Regions from separate parts of the Homo sapiens genome. Here region 1 is linked to region 2. The links are contacts of gene promoters, found by promoter capture Hi-C in blood cells and fetal thymus (Javierre and others, 2016). All regions are on one chromosome and are shown on one strand. The core of a region is centred on a gene start or on the middle of the fragment in contact, and the rest is flanking DNA. Distances in the headings are between cores, read along the strand shown. Region 1 overlaps ZNF189 (zinc finger protein 189). Region 2 holds the start of ERP44 (endoplasmic reticulum protein 44).

Region 1 (3,674 bases), core at 1,111-3,610, 1.3 Mb after region 2:
GATCTGTAACACGTCATTGTCAAATGCAGTAGACTCTTTTGGGACCTTATTTTAGTCTACCTCTCTATGAATATGTGAAACTCTTTATTGTTTCCCTCCATTGGCTTGCATTCTCAGACTTCCCCTCAGTCTGTACTCTTTCCTTGGGGGACCTTACCTACACTCAGGTCATCAGCTACCGCTCTGTGAAAATAAGTCCCATTTTTTTTTTCAAGTCATAGCCTCATTCTGTTGCCCAGGCTGGAGTGCAGTGGTGCAATCTCAGCTCACTGCAGCCTCCACCTCCTGGGTTCAAGAGATTCTCCTGCCTCAGCCTCCTGAGTAGCCGAGACAAACAGGCATGCACCGCCACACCCAGCTAATTTTTGTATTTTTAGTAGAGAAGGGGTTTCACTGTGTTGGCCGGGCTGGTCTCGAACTCCCGATCTCAGGTGATCCGCCCACCTTGGCCTCCCAAAGTGCTGGGATTACAGGCGTGAGCCACCGTGCGTGGCCCAAATCTTTATTTCCACCTAAGAAAGGTAATGTGGAGCCTAACTGCCTAGGTTTAAATCCTTGTTCCACCACTTACTTAGCCTGGTGAGTATAGTGATTTAATCTCTCTTTGCCTCAATTTATTTTTTTATAAAATGGAAATAATAATAGCACCTACCTCATAGGGTTATTGTGAGCATTGACTGAATTAATGTATGTAAAACACTTGACACACTAACATGTAGTTAAGAACAATATAAATGTTGACTTATATTGTTGTCATCATCTTCTCTGTTGAGTTTCCAATTCCTAGTCATCTTTTGAAGACCACATGAGTAATTCAAACCTGGCAAGTTTCAATCCATTAAAATCAAGGGCCTTCTCTTTCTTTGTTTTACCAGAGCTAAGCACTCCTTTCTTTGTTTTACCTTGTATATACTCCTGCTATTGAATTTATCATACTATACTACAATCATTCTATATATGTTACTTTTCTAACCTCACTGATTACTGTGAGGATGGTAGATATACCTGTTGCATTTGATTTCTCCAGCACTTAGCACAGAGCCAGGCCTATATTATATGCTTCTTAAATATTTATATGACTGAGTAAGTACAGTTAACTTAAGACTCAGTATCTCTTAACTGGATTATTACATTAACCCCTAAACTACCCCCTTGCCACTAGTCTCCTTTTTTAAAATATATTCTCTCTACTGCCACCAAAGTGATTTTGTATTAGTTAACTGTGTAAAACTTCTGATGGTTCCTGATAGCTTAAATGATAAAAATCTTAATTTCTTATCATATAGGACCTTCCAAGTATAGCCTCTGCCTATCTTTCTTGCCTCACCTGTTTTTTCCTGCACACCACTTTAGTCTTCAGCCATATCAGCTGCTGATATGTGTGTGTGTGTGTGTGTGTGTGTGTTTTAATATACCATGTTGTCTCTCAGTCACTGCCAGCTTATCCATACATATGGTATTCTGGTTGATAGAACCAAGTAAGTGCCTGGCCCTGCCTTCTCCTAGAACTGCAGCATGTAAATACCATATGGACAAGGTGTGACAGTGTGCCCACAGATGATCTTCTACTTGTAGGCTGTCTTCTTTATTTCAGCTTAAATACAGCTTTCCATATTCATCATTTCTCCTCCCACAGTCTTTTCATCCTCCTCAATAAACACTATCTCCATCCCTTTGGTGAGAGCTCCCTTGATGAGAGATCACTATTACTCTACTGTTGCAATGCAGTATTCTCTTCTACATCATCTTAACTGCTTTTCATAATGCAACTCTTGTCTAGCTTTATAGTTTTGGCTTTTCATTCATACTTTTCCTTTTCAAGCTTATTTTTAAAAAAACTTTAATAGCTACATCGATGATACAGTTGATAGCTTAATTTCTCAGATCTTTGACATCTTCAATTTTAATGACTCTTTCCGCAATGACTTGCAGATTGCCACCTTATTACTGTGTCTTCACATGGCAGAAGGGGAGAGAGATAGAGCAAACGTTCTGGTCTTTGTTCCTCTTTTTATAAGAACACTAATCCCATCATGGGGGCCCAACCTTCATGACCTCATCTAAATTTAATTACTTCCCAAAGGCCCCGCCTCCAAATATCATCACATTGTGGATTAGGGCTTCACCATATGAATATTTGGTGGGAACACAAACATTCAGTCTATAACACTGTCTTATCTCTTTTTTCTCCTTGACGGTTTAGTCTTTTCTCCTTATGTTCACATTCTTCTGTCCTTTTGGCTTCTGGTTTGATAGGTTACAATTCTAGCTACCTTCCGAATAACTAGCGATTTCAGTTTTAATTCCAGGTTCTTTGGCGAAACCCACTTTGAGACAACTATCTGTGTAGAAAAATTGGCCATGACCACAGGATGGGAAGATATTGCATAAGCATTGCCAAGCCCAGATCTAATGGATAGTCACTTCAAGGCTGCTCTGTGTGGAAGCCTTACTCTTGTTTTTTTCACCTGCCTATCCTGTTGACCTATTTATTTTTATGTGAATGTCATTGTTTTATTCGCTTTAACAATATATTACATTTTGTGTCTGGTAATATAAGTCATTCTTTAATAATCTTTTTCAGGATGTACTTCACTAGTCTGCCTTCTTCTAAACTTTAGATTTATTTACTTTTTTATTGGTTCATGTGATTTTTGATTGGAATGATTAGTTTCATAGATTGAAAGGAATTGAGATCCTTATAATATTGAATCTCTTTAGCCATTTGGTTGACTCTGTTTAACTGTATCCTTTTGTCTTTCAGAAAAATTGTATGGAATATTTTTATGGATCTTACACATTTCTTATGTTTATTCCTAGGTTTTATGTTTTTTGTTACTATTGTGAAGCATTTATATCATTTCTGTATAATATTTACTAACTTTTTTTGTACTAAGAACAAGCTTTTTAATCTTGTTATGATTATATTTTCATTTGCTTCTTCCAGGAATTTTAGGTATATATTCATATCATCTTCAAGTAATGATCATTTTGTCTTATTCATTTGAATGAAATTGACAGAACAGTATCCACTAATCCAACTAACATAACTGAACAAATATTCTGAAGAGACTGCCTTCTCACAAAGAATTTACAATCTAGTGGAAGAGACAAATAACGAACAGTTAAAAAATGCAGTGTAATCATAGCAATAATAGAATTATGGTCGAGGGCTGGTAATAAAAAAATAGAACACCTGAATCTGTCTAGTGGACTTAGTAAAGGCTTTGTAGAGGAACTGTTGCTTTAAACTTAAAGATTGCTTTGAATCTTAAAACCAAAAGTTTGCCAGGTAAACAGTGTTGAGGGACATTTAGTAAATGAGATATGTGAAGATAAGACATGAAAGACTGTAACACAAACAATTTGCCTACATAAAGTATGATAAAGTAGGTAGGAACATGACTTGAGGCTTAGAGACTGTGTCATGAAGAGTTGTATCATAGCAAAGAGCTTGATTCGATCTTAAAGGTGATGGGGAGCTGCTAAATCTACAGGTGATGACTTGAGTAGAATTCTGTTTTATAGAGATCTCTTCTAGAATCAGTAAGGCATATATAATGTGTTGGCAGCCTAAAGACTGGAGCCAAAGATTATAAGGCAGCTACATGATTGTGAGGGATGAAAGATAGGTGCTAGAGAGAAATCCAGGATTTGGATGATTGATTAACGTG
Region 2 (4,231 bases), core at 351-2,850:
CATTTTGTGGATAAGATTAGTATCCAGTCTTCTTAAGGAGAGAGTGGTCTCTAATAATGGTATTATTCTAACACTTCTAGAAGGAAAAATGTATCACAGTGTATAATGAAATCACCAAGAAACAACACTATACAGAATATTTTCCTCGATACAGAAGTCATTCACTGTTGTATACTTATAAGAAGTGGCAATAAGACACTCTATCATTTAATATTACAATGTTTATACACAACTTTTTGTTCTCAAAAGTACTTTGACATGCCATTTAGTTTTTTACAGTGCTTTTTCCGAAAAGGTCCAAGTGACAAAAGAAAAGAAAGAACTATTTCAAACACAAATATTAAACATTTAATGGGATATGGCGGAATAAGCACTGGAAGTCAAGAGACTTGTTTCTAATCCCAGCTCTGCCTGTAACTAGCTGTGTGACTTCATATGCGTCACTAAATCGTTTCTTAAATTGTAAAGAAAGTAGTTCTTAATGTTTAAATCTGAATTTCTAAAAATCTACTACAATTAAGGTACTTTCAAATATTACATTATAATTAACAGCCCAATTAAATATAAGCCATTTTGCCATACGTGTTTAGTCCTTCGCTTTTGTCTCAATTTGACCTGAAGCCTGGATCAATTAGTCTGCACACTCAAGACGTACTCTGGGGCAAGAGGGACTAGGGAAAGATTCTTTTAAGATGGGATGATGCTGAGCAGGTTAGGCAGTTAGGAATGAATGCATATTCAAATAAGGCGCAATGAAGAAGAAATCTGCTTCCATGGGGAAATACGTTGCAATAAGATTTGAGGGAGGCCTTGAGCTGAGATTGTCAGGTAACCACACCTTCCACCCTTCAAACTCTATTCTCCCAGTGGAATCCAAACCAGTCTCCAGTTCCGGGTTCCCAACCAATCGCATCAAGCCACAACAGAGGGATCTGCCAACCCGGGCACCGCTTCAGGGATCTAGACCCAGTGAGAGTCACACAACCCCAGCACCTGTCGACCTCACACTCTTCCCAAATGGAGAGGGTGGGAAGGAACGCTAGGTCTATGCTTGGTCTTTTCCGATTCAAGCTACCACCAGGTCCACTAGCCCTCGAAACCGAAACCCCCGGACTTCGGGGAGAAGGGGAAGCTCCTACGCCGTGACTACGTATCAGTCCCTCAGGGCTAATTCTCCCATTCTCCCCCGACACTGGTTTCTCAGGCCTCGGGGACTCCGCGCCTGGAAGCCGACAGGCGAGAGTGAGGGCAGCGGGGGAGGGTGCACTCCAAAACACTGCAGGAAAAGACGGAAAAGCAGGGGCAGGAGTAGCAGTGTTCCCCCTGGGCGAGGGCCGGAGGCCGTTCGTGCGTTTGTCGATGGGTCTGTCATTCCCTCACTCACCAGGAGCAGAAGGGAGCATCTGAGGTCGGGTAAGGATAGGAAGACGGCAGGATGCATGGTAACGCTGGGGTCCGTGACAGGGACAGGCGCTGGCGGCTGGGACTGGGCTAGGTTGGGTTGGGTTAGGAAAGGGCTGGGCTCCGGGAGCCGACGGCAGCGGAGGATTCTCCAGGCAGCGGCACCTCGTCCTCTCGACCCGGGCTCCAGCGGCGAACACCCGGGACAACTTCCAGAGAGGCCTCTCACACCCTCACTTCCGGGTCCTGCCCACCTCGGTGCACTTCGGGAAATGTAGTCCTGCACTAGCCTCACCCCGCACGTCGTCCGTCATCTAGAACTTCCTTTCCCATTGGGCTCTCGGCCCCGGTCCACTGAGTCCTCTGCGCGCGGGGTCCTGTGGGATAGAAGGGCGGAGGGCGGGTGTACGCGGTGCTTCAGAGGATGGGAACTACAATTCCCAGAAGGATGTGCGGCCGAAAGCCTCGGGCGGCCTTTTGAGGGGCTCGGCTAGCTTCAGCGCCGTGGGGTCTGACCTGGCTGGATATAGTGTACCGGCCCGGCAGGAGGGGCGGCCCGGTCCGGGTTGCGCCTCCTGGAGCCGCCCCCGGGACGTCAGTCCTGGAGGAGGCGAGGGTGAGTAGGAGGGGGCCTGGCTGGGGAGGCTCAGATCATTCGGTCCGCACCGCCTTGGCCCCTGCTGCAGACTCACGGCCTTCCTGGCCTAGGCTGTGGCCTGAGCCTCCATCATTGGCCTCCTCGCCCGCTGCCTCTTCTTTCTGCTCTAATTCCTGCATTATAAAGTCAGAGCCACCACTCGGGGCCTCAGTTGAATGAGTCAATGACTTATCCCTGATTGTCTCTGAGGGCTCCTGTAAGGAGTAGATGTGGTACGGGATGGGATAGCACGTCGTAAACTGGAAAACTGTGTGAGTGATTGCTGCTAAGGCGTGGATCGCTCCTCCAGTATAATTACGAAATTCCCTAGCAAAGCAGTCGAGGATCCTAACTTGGCCCCAGGTAGCTCTGCGGCTTCTTCTGCAAACACTCAGTGAGGTCCAGGAGCCCACGCGATCTCTGCTTAGTACCCAGGAGGCACACTGTGCTTTTGTGGTTCTCCCTGCTCCCGCCTTTGCTTCAGCTTTCCTGCTGCCTGGAATGGCCTTACCCGTTCTCTCTCTGGAATGCTATCTTAAATGTCACCATCTCTGAGAACTTCCCGAACAACCAACCCTTTAGTCCTAATCAGAATTACTCTTCCTATGAGTGTGACTGCAGTACCTCTAGTTTTGTACGGTTATAATTATTAGAGCATTTATTACACGGGCTTGTTGTATAATTAGGCAAGGATGATGACACCTTTGCATTTTATAGCACTTTATCAAAGTGGTTTTGACTTTTTTCTATAAAAAATGATTTATTTTCTTAAAGGGGCAAAAAATACATTTTTTCTTAAGAAAAAAAAAGAGCCCTGCATAATGGCTTTCTCAGGGTGACAAAATTAGACAGTGATAGAGCCAATACTCTTACCAAGGCGGCCTAACTCCTAGACTAGTGCTCCTATCTCTTGTCCACGCCCCTGACAGAGCCCAAAGATAGTTGAAATGGGAAATTTTAAAAGAGCAGAGACTTGTAAGTATGAACTCATTATTCAAGAAATTAAACTTTGATCCTGCTCACTTTTTGGACTTAGCACTCAGCCTGTGACCTTTCATCCAACAAACATCTACTGAGTACTGGCTATATACCTGTTACTGTGCTAAGTGCTAAGAATTATGAAGTAAAAAGTATATATATATAATATATATAATATATGTACATATAATATATATAATATATGTATATATAATATATATATTATATATGTATATATAATATATATATTATATATGTACATATAATATATATATTATATATGTACATATAATATATATATTATATGTACATATAATATATATATTATATGTACATATAATATATATAATATATGTATATATAATATATATTATATATATAATATATGTATATATAATATATATAATATATGTATATATAATATATATATAATATATGTATATATAATATATATATTATATATGTATATATAATATATATTATATATGTATATATATTATATGTATATATATAATATATATAATATATATACATATATATTATATATATAATATATATTATATATATAATATATATGTATATATAATATATATATTATATGTATATATATTATATATATTATATATGTGTATATATAATTTATATATGTATAATATATACACACACACACATATATATAAAACAGAGATCACATTTTTAGTGTATTTTTCAAAGGGTATAAAGAACTTTTTTTGTGGTTCTGATGTGCCTAAAACTCTGATCACTTAGAATGAAAAATGACAGGTCTTAGAGTTTAGAACAGTGCCTAGCACATAGTTGTCACTCAGCTTGTTGAATGAACGAATGTGAACATGGTCTAACCTTATTATTTTTTGCATTTTACAGAAACCTAGAAAGCTGACATAGCCTGAGGACACACTGCTGATTATAAATACAACTGGGCCTAGAACCCAAGTGCAGTTACTCCCCTCCCATGTTTTCACCTCCACCTCTATTTTGTAGCTTCTCTCAAATAACCTTAATATAATCCTGGATATGACAGTAGTTCTTCTGACATGACTGTTAGACTCAGACATGACTGAAGTGTCTCACAACACCCTCTTCCTCCATATTTTCTGCCAGTCCTTAACTCAAATTGTCAGCAAAATAAAGACGTAAGGAGCTGTGCTTTACCATAATTAAGAAAGTATTAATATGTTCTCTCAAGGGCAGAAT

The links. Contacts are between HindIII fragments. The CHiCAGO score rates a contact against its expected background, and 5 or more counts as called.
Region 1: a fragment that was not itself captured here is called in contact with the fragment with the promoter of ERP44 in region 2 in 1 of 17 cell types (neutrophils); the score reaches 5.5 in neutrophils.

The regions. Positions count from the first base shown.
Region 1 is chr9:101,401,721-101,405,394 of GRCh38, forward strand. The region is part of intron 2 of ZNF189 (zinc finger protein 189); the gene reads left to right. Among named protein-coding and RNA genes, the nearest start is that of ZNF189, 4.7 kb to the left of the region's middle. The HindIII fragment of the contact is 1,081 bases long and covers 1,821-2,901 here.
Region 2 is chr9:100,097,400-100,101,630 of GRCh38, forward strand. ERP44 (endoplasmic reticulum protein 44) reads right to left here and starts at 1,601. Exons shown (of 12, transcript NM_015051.3): 1 at 1,385-1,601. The coding sequence starts at 1,441. INVS (inversin) reads left to right here and starts at 1,844. Exons shown (of 17, transcript NM_014425.5): 1 at 1,844-2,017. RefSeq lists enhancers at 1,448-1,517, 1,528-1,667 and a silencer at 1,908-2,117. The HindIII fragment of the contact is 16,824 bases long and covers 1-4,231 here.